Regions from separate parts of the Homo sapiens genome. Here region 2 is linked to region 1. The links are contacts of gene promoters, found by promoter capture Hi-C in human tissues and cell types (Jung and others, 2019). All regions are on one chromosome and are shown on one strand. The core of a region is centred on a gene start or on the middle of the fragment in contact, and the rest is flanking DNA. Distances in the headings are between cores, read along the strand shown.

The links. The method cuts DNA at HindIII sites, captures the fragments that hold promoters and counts their contacts. A contact is called where the count stands out against the background at its distance.
Region 2: a contact is called between a fragment that was not itself captured here and the fragment with the promoter of SRSF6 in region 1, in 1 of the 25 tissues and cell types used here (hippocampus).

What each region holds. Positions count from the first base shown.
Region 1 is chr20:43,455,634-43,459,957 of GRCh38, reverse strand. It overlaps SRSF6 (serine and arginine rich splicing factor 6), which reads right to left and starts at 2,062. Exons shown (of 6, transcript NM_006275.6): 1 at 1,818-2,062; 2 at 1,449-1,597; 3 at 63-187. The coding sequence starts at 1,924. RefSeq lists silencers at 1,276-1,535, 1,546-1,645 and enhancers at 1,786-1,885, 1,317-2,264, 2,186-2,345, 2,406-2,725. The HindIII fragment of the contact is 8,319 bases long and covers 1-4,324 here.
Region 2 is chr20:44,503,975-44,508,298 of GRCh38, reverse strand. It overlaps SERINC3 (serine incorporator 3), which reads left to right. Exons shown (of 10, transcript NM_006811.4): 6 at 1,303-1,472; 7 at 3,408-3,498; 8 at 4,304-4,324. Among named protein-coding and RNA genes, the nearest start is that of SERINC3, 16 kb to the left of the region's middle. The HindIII fragment of the contact is 4,386 bases long and covers 1-4,202 here.

The sequences.
Region 1 (4,324 bases), core at 813-3,312:
ATAAAAGGAGTTTACTTTAAAGCATTAGTCATATCATTTCTATCTTGAATTACAAAACATACCTTTAAATCTTGCCAACTGCACCGACTAGAAAGATTTTCTACAATAAGCCTGTATTCTGTACGAACAGGTGGTCCGTATTTGTCTCTGCCAGATGTTCTCCGACTGCTGTATCCACCTCCACCACCTTTATCACATGAAGGGAACAATTAGATGCCTTGTAATGATAAAAACGCATAATGTCTTTGAAAGTTAGTACAAACATATCAACTTTTATTTACTGGAGTAGGACTTTGCTATTATATTGCTAAACCTTCGACACATTTGTGATTTGCCATAAAATTAAATTAAGGGCAAGTCAAATAGACTAAATCCAACTAAACCTCTCCTACAATCTGTTAGAGAGTGACTGCTCCTTTATTCGATTTACCTCGCTAAGTTTTATTTTACAGAACATTGTAAAATATAAAACTTAACTGATTACATGCATTTCTACATTTTACAAAAATGTTTACTAGTTTTACACTAAGTACTTACATCACAGTGTGAGGTTTTTGGTGGTGGTTTGGCCACAAAACACGCAAGGTAACAGTCACCTAGTTCAGATTAACCAGTTTTGTCTAACCCTTGGAATCCTCACCATCACCCTGCGTCTAATGGCAAAAGGCTGCTGTCGTCATGGCTTCCGGTAAGGTCAGCCAAAGGGTCATAGGGCAAGGGTCACACAATGTATGGAAAAGCCAAGGCCAATCAGGAAAGGCAGTCATCTTAGCCTCAGTGGACACAGCCTCAGCCCCATTGGTCACTTTCAAATTGAAACATCAAGGACTTGTTAAAAAGTTTGAATTCAACATGCAACAATTTAAACATCAAACATTTAACATAACCAAAAATCCCCCCAACCTCCTCCCAATAACATGCCCCAATTAGTTCAAATACAGCATAAAGCTTATTTAGATCTACTTTGTGGTACAATACCACATTACTTAAAAATAGTACATTCTTTGGCCCCCATCAAGTTCCATAGCTTTAAGACCTATACTTTATGCTCCTCCCCTTCCCCGTCCCCCGCGCCCCCTACCCCACCTCCACCCGAGCCTGCCCCCGAACCTCTAACTAATGCACTGATAGGTAAGTAAGGAGAATACAACAAATACAGCCACCCCTTACTTCCTCTGTGGGAAGAACCCGTGACAGTGCTGACAAGGGGCCAGAAGAAGCCACCCACCTCCCAACTTGGCAAATAAACAAAACCAAACACCCAAACCCAATCCCCGCGCTCCGGCGTCCCATGGCTGCCCCGGGCAGACGTGAAGGCAGCGGGGCTCGGGGACACCCAAGTCAAACGACCCCCGGCCCTCGCGCCTGCCCGGGCTGGGAGGCCCCACCCCACCCACCCCCGCCCCCAGGGTCCCCAAGGGCGCGGAGCGCGCGGGGGTGGGACTCACTGCGGCTTCCGTAGCTGTAGCCGTCGCGATCGCGACGCGGGCCCCGGGCGTGCTCTACGATCACGCGCTCGCCGCAGAGCTCCTTGCCGTTCAGCTCGTAAACGGCGTCGTCGGCGTCGCGGGAGTCCTCGAACTCCACGAAGCCGTACCTAGGGGCGGTGCGAGGGCCGGACAACCGCGGGGGAGTCGTTAGCCAGGACGCGCACGTGCGCGCGCCCGTACCCCACCGCGCGCCCCCGCGACGCCGCGCCGTCGCCATCTTTGAGGCCCTGCCACGCGGCGCCGCGGCCTTGGCCGCTTCTTTCCTTGGAGAGTTCCCGCCGCCACCAGGCCTGGGACGCTGGGCGCGGGCGCCCAGGCCCGACTCACCCATTTTTGAGGTCTACTTCGAGGAGGCGGCCATAGCCACTGAAAAAGCGCTGGATGTCCTTCTCCCGGACGTTGTAGCTCAGGCGTCCTATGTAGACGCGCGGCATGTCCGTGGCGGGCGGGGACCCAAGGGCTGGTTGTCGAACGGCGGACCGCAAGCCAGTAACCGCGGTGCGGGTGCGGGGACGGCAAGAGCCCGAACACGCGCCTCACACCACAGGGGCGGCCGAGTCCAGCCACACAATGGCGCGCGCGCGCGCCAGGCTTTCGCTATATGGGCGGCCGGTGGGGCGGGGCCTGGAGCGTGATGTCAGCGCGCAGCGGCACGTCCGTCCCGCGTCGTCCCTGGGCTAGATGGTGACTGGCGAGTCCGTTGCCCGCGACGTTTCGGTGTAGTGCGGTCTTGCTAGCTTCTAGGATTTTTCTCTAGCCCTCCCCACCGTCTTTGAAAACACAATGTCTCTAATCCAGCCGCAGAACTGCTTTCTAATTTGTACCTTTTATAAAACTGTGCGCGATCTCTTCGGGGTTGAAGCTCGGGAGGCGGGCTGAGCGAATCCCCGTTTTTCATTGGTTCTCGAGGTTATCATAATAGGTCGCCGCGGTCTCTGCTTGGTGGCTTAAAACGAGGCTGCGGATTTCTCCCAGCGATTGGTTGATGCTCGTTTTGATGGGGACCGCGGTCTCGGACCCAGTCGCTTGTCTTGTTTCGCAGAATCTGAGGATCGCGCGCCGAGGTCTTGCTGACCGGGCGGAGGTCGCGTTGCGAGCGCGCAGACCCGCCGACATCAGCCTCTCCGGGTCTCACTCGCAGCCTTCGCCTCCCCGGACGTTCCCCTCTCCCTCCATGGGTCTTTCTTGGAGCCCTGGCAGCTTGACTCACTTGTGGATTGGGCTATCCGTGGCAATCCTACGCTCACTGTAGGTGCTCAAAAGGGAGCGTGGACGAGACCCGGCAGCCCTCCCACAGCGACGAACGATTTTTTTTCTCCCGTGTATGGAAAGTCCTTTGTCCCAATACTATCATTTCCTCCACTGACTTGAAAGTGCCTTATTTTGTGAGTTTATCAATGGAGATGCTATTTAAAGCTGTAGAACCAGATTGAAAACCTCAAAGGAGTAAGTTTAAGTGGAGAGCGGAAGACCCAGGCCAACGCCTGGGGTACTCTGAAATTTAAGCGCAGGAAAGGAGACTGGGAGGAGTGACTAGCGAGGTAGGGAGAAGACCAGGAGAGTAGGTGTCACCGCCGAAGCTAAAAAAAAAAAAAAAAAAAAAAAGGGATATCACTGAGATAACACCAGCTCTTTAGATATTTATGTATTCCTGCTCTGTTTTGAGTGGTGCAACCTCAATATCCTTAAGCTTCGGGTTGAAAAAGGGGGGTTTTGTCCTCCTGGAGCTATTTGGAAGTCTAGAGGGAAACGTTGTTTGTCACGACTGGGGGAGGTAGAGGCCGTGCTTAAAGTTAGATAAATAAAAAATACGAGTCTGTAATCCCCACACCTTGGGAAGCTGAGGCAAGAGGATCTCTTGAGCCCAGGTGTTCGAGGCTGCAGTGAGCTATGATCATGCCACTGCACTCCAGCCTGGGTGACAAAGCAAGACTCCAACCTGCCTGAAGGAAAGAACAAAGCTTCCGCAGCGTGGAAGGGGACCCGAGCGGGTTGCCACTGCTGGCTGGACCGCCAGTTTTTAGTCCCTTATTTGGCCCTGCCTACATCCTGCTGATTGGTCCATTTTACAGAATGTTGATTGGTCCGTTTTTACAGAGTGCTGATTGGTGTGTTTACAAACCTTTAGCTAGACAGAGAGCACTGATTGGTGTGTTTTCAATCCTTTAGCTAGACGGGAAAGTTCTCCAAGTCCCCACCCAACCCAGAAGCCCAGCCGGCTTCACCTCTTCACCTCGGTAGGCAGAATAAGGGTTCCCCCTAAAGATGTCTATGTCCTAATCCTAATCCTAATCCCTGAAACCTGTGAAGATGTTACCTTGTATGTCAAAAGGGACTTTGCAGATCTGATTAAGTTGAGCATCTTGAGATGCAGAGATGCCCCGGGATTGTCCAGGTGGGCCCCATGTGATCATAAGGGTGATTACAAGAGGGGGACAGGAGAGCCACAGTCAGAGAAGCAGATGTGACAAAGGAGGCTGGGATTGGGGTCAGAGTGATTGGCTGTAAGAAAGTCACAACCGAAGTTAATGGCTTTGAAGATGGAGGAAGGAACCATAAGCCAAAGGGTGCCAGTAGCCTCTGGAAGCTGGAAGACACGAGGGAACAGATTCGCCCCAGAGCCTCCTGAAAGAACGCAGCCCAGGCCAGGCTCTGTGGCTCACACCTGTGCCATCTCGGCTCACTGCAACCTCCGCCTCCTGGGTTCAAGTGATTCTCCTGCCTCAGCCTCCCGAGTAGCTGGGATTACAGGCATGCACCACCACGCCCAGCTAATTTTGTATTTTTAGTAGAGACGGGGTTTCACCATGTTAGGCTGGTCTCGTTTCGAACTC
Region 2 (4,324 bases), core at 760-3,259, 1.0 Mb before region 1:
GTTTTGCCATGTTGCCGGAACTCCTGGACTCAATCGATCCACCTGCCTTGCCCTCCCAAAGTGTTAGGATTGCAGGCGTGAGCCACCACACCCGGCTGTTATTTTCTTTAATTCATTTTGGATCATACAACTCTAGAAGAATTTATTGAGTTGCAAATTGGTCATACTTTACAGTAACTAAGTGTAGAAAAATCTTGTATATTCAGAGGTGAAAACATTAAGTGTGCTAGTAACTTAATGTACATCATTTAATTTTAGACATGCAAAATTCATTGAGATAAGTAGAAACTAGTTTTCTTAATCTGGGCTTTGACTTGAATACAAGTTAGCTGAGCTCATCATTCTTGCAGTTGGTCTGAGTGTACTGTATGTGCTGTTTCATGTTTTCTAATTTTCAGAGCTACACAGCTAATTGTTTTGTTTGTTGTTTGAGATGGGGTTTTGTTCTGTTGTCCAGGCTGGAGTGCAGTGGCACCATCTCGGCTCACTGCAACCTCTATGTCTTGGGCTCAAGCAATCCCCCTGCCTCAGCTTCCCAAGTAGCTGGGGCTACAGCCTTATGCCACCATGCCTGGCTGATTTTTGTATTTTTTGTAGAGACAGGGTTTGGCCATGTTGCCTGGGCTGGTCTGGAACTCAGGCTCAAGCAATCCAGCCACCTTGGCCTCCCAAAGTGCTGGGATTACAGGCATGAGCCACCATGTTCAGCCAACACAGCTAATTGTTGATTTTTAGTGTGAATGGAAAAGACCATTACTTTAGATATTAAAAAATAGCAAATGAGCCACTTTTCCAGTTCAGGGACAGTCTTATTGTTTGTGATGGGAAATGGATTTAGATAGCCAATGGCTGCAGAGGAAAAAACTGTCATAAAAAGATACCAGTGTGTGTATTCTGTTTTCCTCTAACACCATCCTGGCATGGAGCTTGCTGTGAACTGGGTCATTTTGAGGGTAAAGGAATCATTTAGGTTCCTAAGAAAAGCTCACAATACACATTAATTAACATATAGGTAGCAGTAAACTCTAGCTGGAATGATCAAATGTCTGGTAATCAACCCATGAAATCAAATCAGGTAATTCAGGAAGTGAATTCAGTTGCTTGGTGGATTTTGGAATTTAACATCAAGCCAATTGAATACAATCTTGATACTTTAACCTTGAGACCTCTGTAATTTTACTGTAAATTACCCCAGAAAAGTGACATAATGTCTCCTCATTTTTATATGGAGTGGAAGAAAATTGGCCTTCATTATTAGTTTATTATAGTTGTGGTCATTCATATTGGTTTCCCTTTCTCCAGCTTTACTGTCTTTCACAAGCGCCTTTTATATCCTGTCAATCATCTGTGTCGGGCTGCTCTATACATATTACACCAAACCAGATGGCTGCACAGAAAACAAGTTCTTCATCAGTATTAACCTGATCCTTTGCGTTGTGGCTTCTATTATATCGATCCACCCAAAAATTCAGGTATGATTGTTTACTACTTCTTTCTCCTGTGAAAGGTTTTTAATTCTAAGCTTAAAATCTAGGTACCCTTTCTTATGAATTTATGTCTAAGTTTATCCACTTGAACATTTTTCCATATTATAAAGTCTTCATAATTCTATTTCATGCCTATATCATAATTAAATGAATTTCACTATCATTAAAAAAAAACCCAGGTAACTTGAAAATTTATAGTGCTTTTTTTTTTTTTTTTTTTTTTTTTTGAGATGGAGTCTCGCTCTGTCAACCAGGCTGGAGTGCAGTGGCACAATCTCGGCTCACTGCAACCTCTGCCTCCTGGGTTCAAGCAGTTCTCTGCCTCAGCCTCCCGAGTAGCTGGGATCACAGGCAGCCACCACCGGGCCTGGCCAGTTTTTGTATTTTTGGTAGAGATAGGGTTTCACCATCTTGGCCAGGCTGAACTCTTGACCTCGTGATCCACCCGCCTCGGCCTCCCAAGGTGCTGGGATTACAGGCGTGAGCCACCACGCCTGGCCGGGAATGAGTCTTTTTTTTTTTTTTTTTTTGAGACAAAGTCTCACTCTTGTCCCCTAGGCTGGAGTGCGATGGTGCAATCTCAGCTCACTACAACCTCCACCTCCTGGGTTCCAGTGATTCTCCAGCCTTGGCCAGGCGCCTGCCACCATGCCCGGCTAATTTTTGTATTTTTAGTTGAGACGGGGTTTCACCATGTTGGCAAGGCTGGTCTCGAACTCCTGACCTCAGGTGATCCACCCATCTCAGCCTCCCAAAGTGCTGGTTTTACAGTTGTGAGCCACCGCATGTGGCTGGGAATGATTCTTATGAGTCATTAGCCAAGATATTTTAGGGGAATTAAACTGAAAAATAATTGATTTTAATATTTCAAAACAAAACTCATGCTCTTGAGTTCTAAATACCATAGTTTAGGCTGGGTGTGGTGGCTTAACGCCTGTAATCCCAGCACTTTGGGAGGCCAAGGCGGGTGGATCACTTGAGGTCAGGAGTTCAAGACCAGCCTGACCAACATGGTGAAACGTCATCTCTACTAAAAATACAAAATTAGCTAGGCGTGGGGGCGCACACCTGTAATCCCAGCTACTTGGCAGGCTGAGGGGCAGGAGAATAGCCTGAACCCTGGAGGCGGAGGTAGCAGTGAGCTGAGATTGCGCCATTGCACTCCAGCCTGGGCAATAAGAGCGAAACTCCAGCTTGGCGTGATGGCTCATGCCTGTAATCCCAGCACTTTGGGAGGCCAAGGCGGGCAGATCACCTGAGGTCAGGAGTTCAAGACCAGCTTGGCCAACATGACGAAACCCCATCTCTACTAAAAGTACAAAAATTAGCCGGGTGTGGTGGCGGGCACTGTAATCCCAGCTACTCAGGAGGCTGAGGCAAGGAGAAATTTGAACCCAGGAGGAGGTTGCAGTGAGCTGAGATCGCACCACTGCACTCCAGCCGGGGTGACAAAAGCGAGACTCCGTCTCAGAAAAAAAAGAAAAAAAAACCGTTTAAAAAAATTCATGGAGTTATAGATATGAAATATGAAAATTCTATCTAGACATCACCTTTCCTTTTAAAAGTGAGAAAACAGAAGTCTCAAAGAAGTGATAGGCCTCTCCCAGCTACTAATTAGTTGCAGAGCTGATCTTAGATCTTTTCACTACACCAAGGGAGTGGAAAATCAAAGTCCTTGTGTGATGCACAGGAATTTCTAGGATTGTGAAATGCGTTGAGAACCAGTAGTACTTGCTTGGTCTTTCTGGGTTCTTTTGCGAGCTAACTGAACAGAAGGTTACTTGTCACCTTTCAACTCTCAAGAAGAATCCGAAAGTTCTCAGTTACTGATAGTTGAATTAACTCCAGAGAAGTGCACTGCATTTTGGAAAGTCAGCCCTTGGCAGTCCCTGTGCCACTGTTTTCCTTTTGATTCCATAGGAACACCAGCCTCGCTCCGGCCTCTTGCAGTCCTCCCTCATCACCCTCTACACTATGTACCTCACCTGGTCAGCCATGTCCAATGAACCTGGTAAGGGAATGTCAATAACACATTCATTTGATAAAAAGAAAGTAGGAAATCAGCCTTTACATAGTTGGTACAAAAACTAGAGCTAGAGCAAATGTGAAACAAGCAAACAAAACTTAAACGTACAGTGTTCACTGTAGGTTTGTAGGTATTTACCTTTCACATTTTAGTCCCCACATCTATTGATAGCTATTTATAACTGACAGTCTAAAGGGTCAGAGTCCTTTAGATGGTCTAGGCTTTACCTAACCTAGGCTGAGTCAAACTAGTTAAGAGCTGTGGTCAAGGGCTTTGGCCCTTTGTTGTGACTGAATTTTAGTTTGATGTCACAGGCTGTAGAAGAAACAGCTGTAGGAAATCTCCTTTTGTAGTTATTATAGGATTGTTTCTCAGTAGGATATTCTATGGGCTTCTTTTAAAGGAAAACAATGCAGACCCCCCTTCCACCAATGATAACTTATATTTTGTTCTTAAGTAACTATGTAAAAACCAAAATAGAGATAAACTTCTGTGCTTAAAACCTTGACACTTAAAGAATTAAAAAGATTTGTCAAACTACAAAACCAATAAAATCAATAATGATGTTTATGAAATTTGACAGATTCTGTTGTTGTTTTCTTTTTTTTTCCTAATTCTGTCATTGATTGTGACCAAACGTGTTACTACTGACTGCTAAGTTTCAGATTTTTTAAGTAAAGCATTCCCATGTTTCACATCATGACTGAATGATATGTAGGGAACTCCTCAAGTTCTTTCTTGGAACAAGATGAGCTGTAACCAAGGATAATACAAATTTTCTCATTTTCAGATCGTTCCTGCAATCCCAACC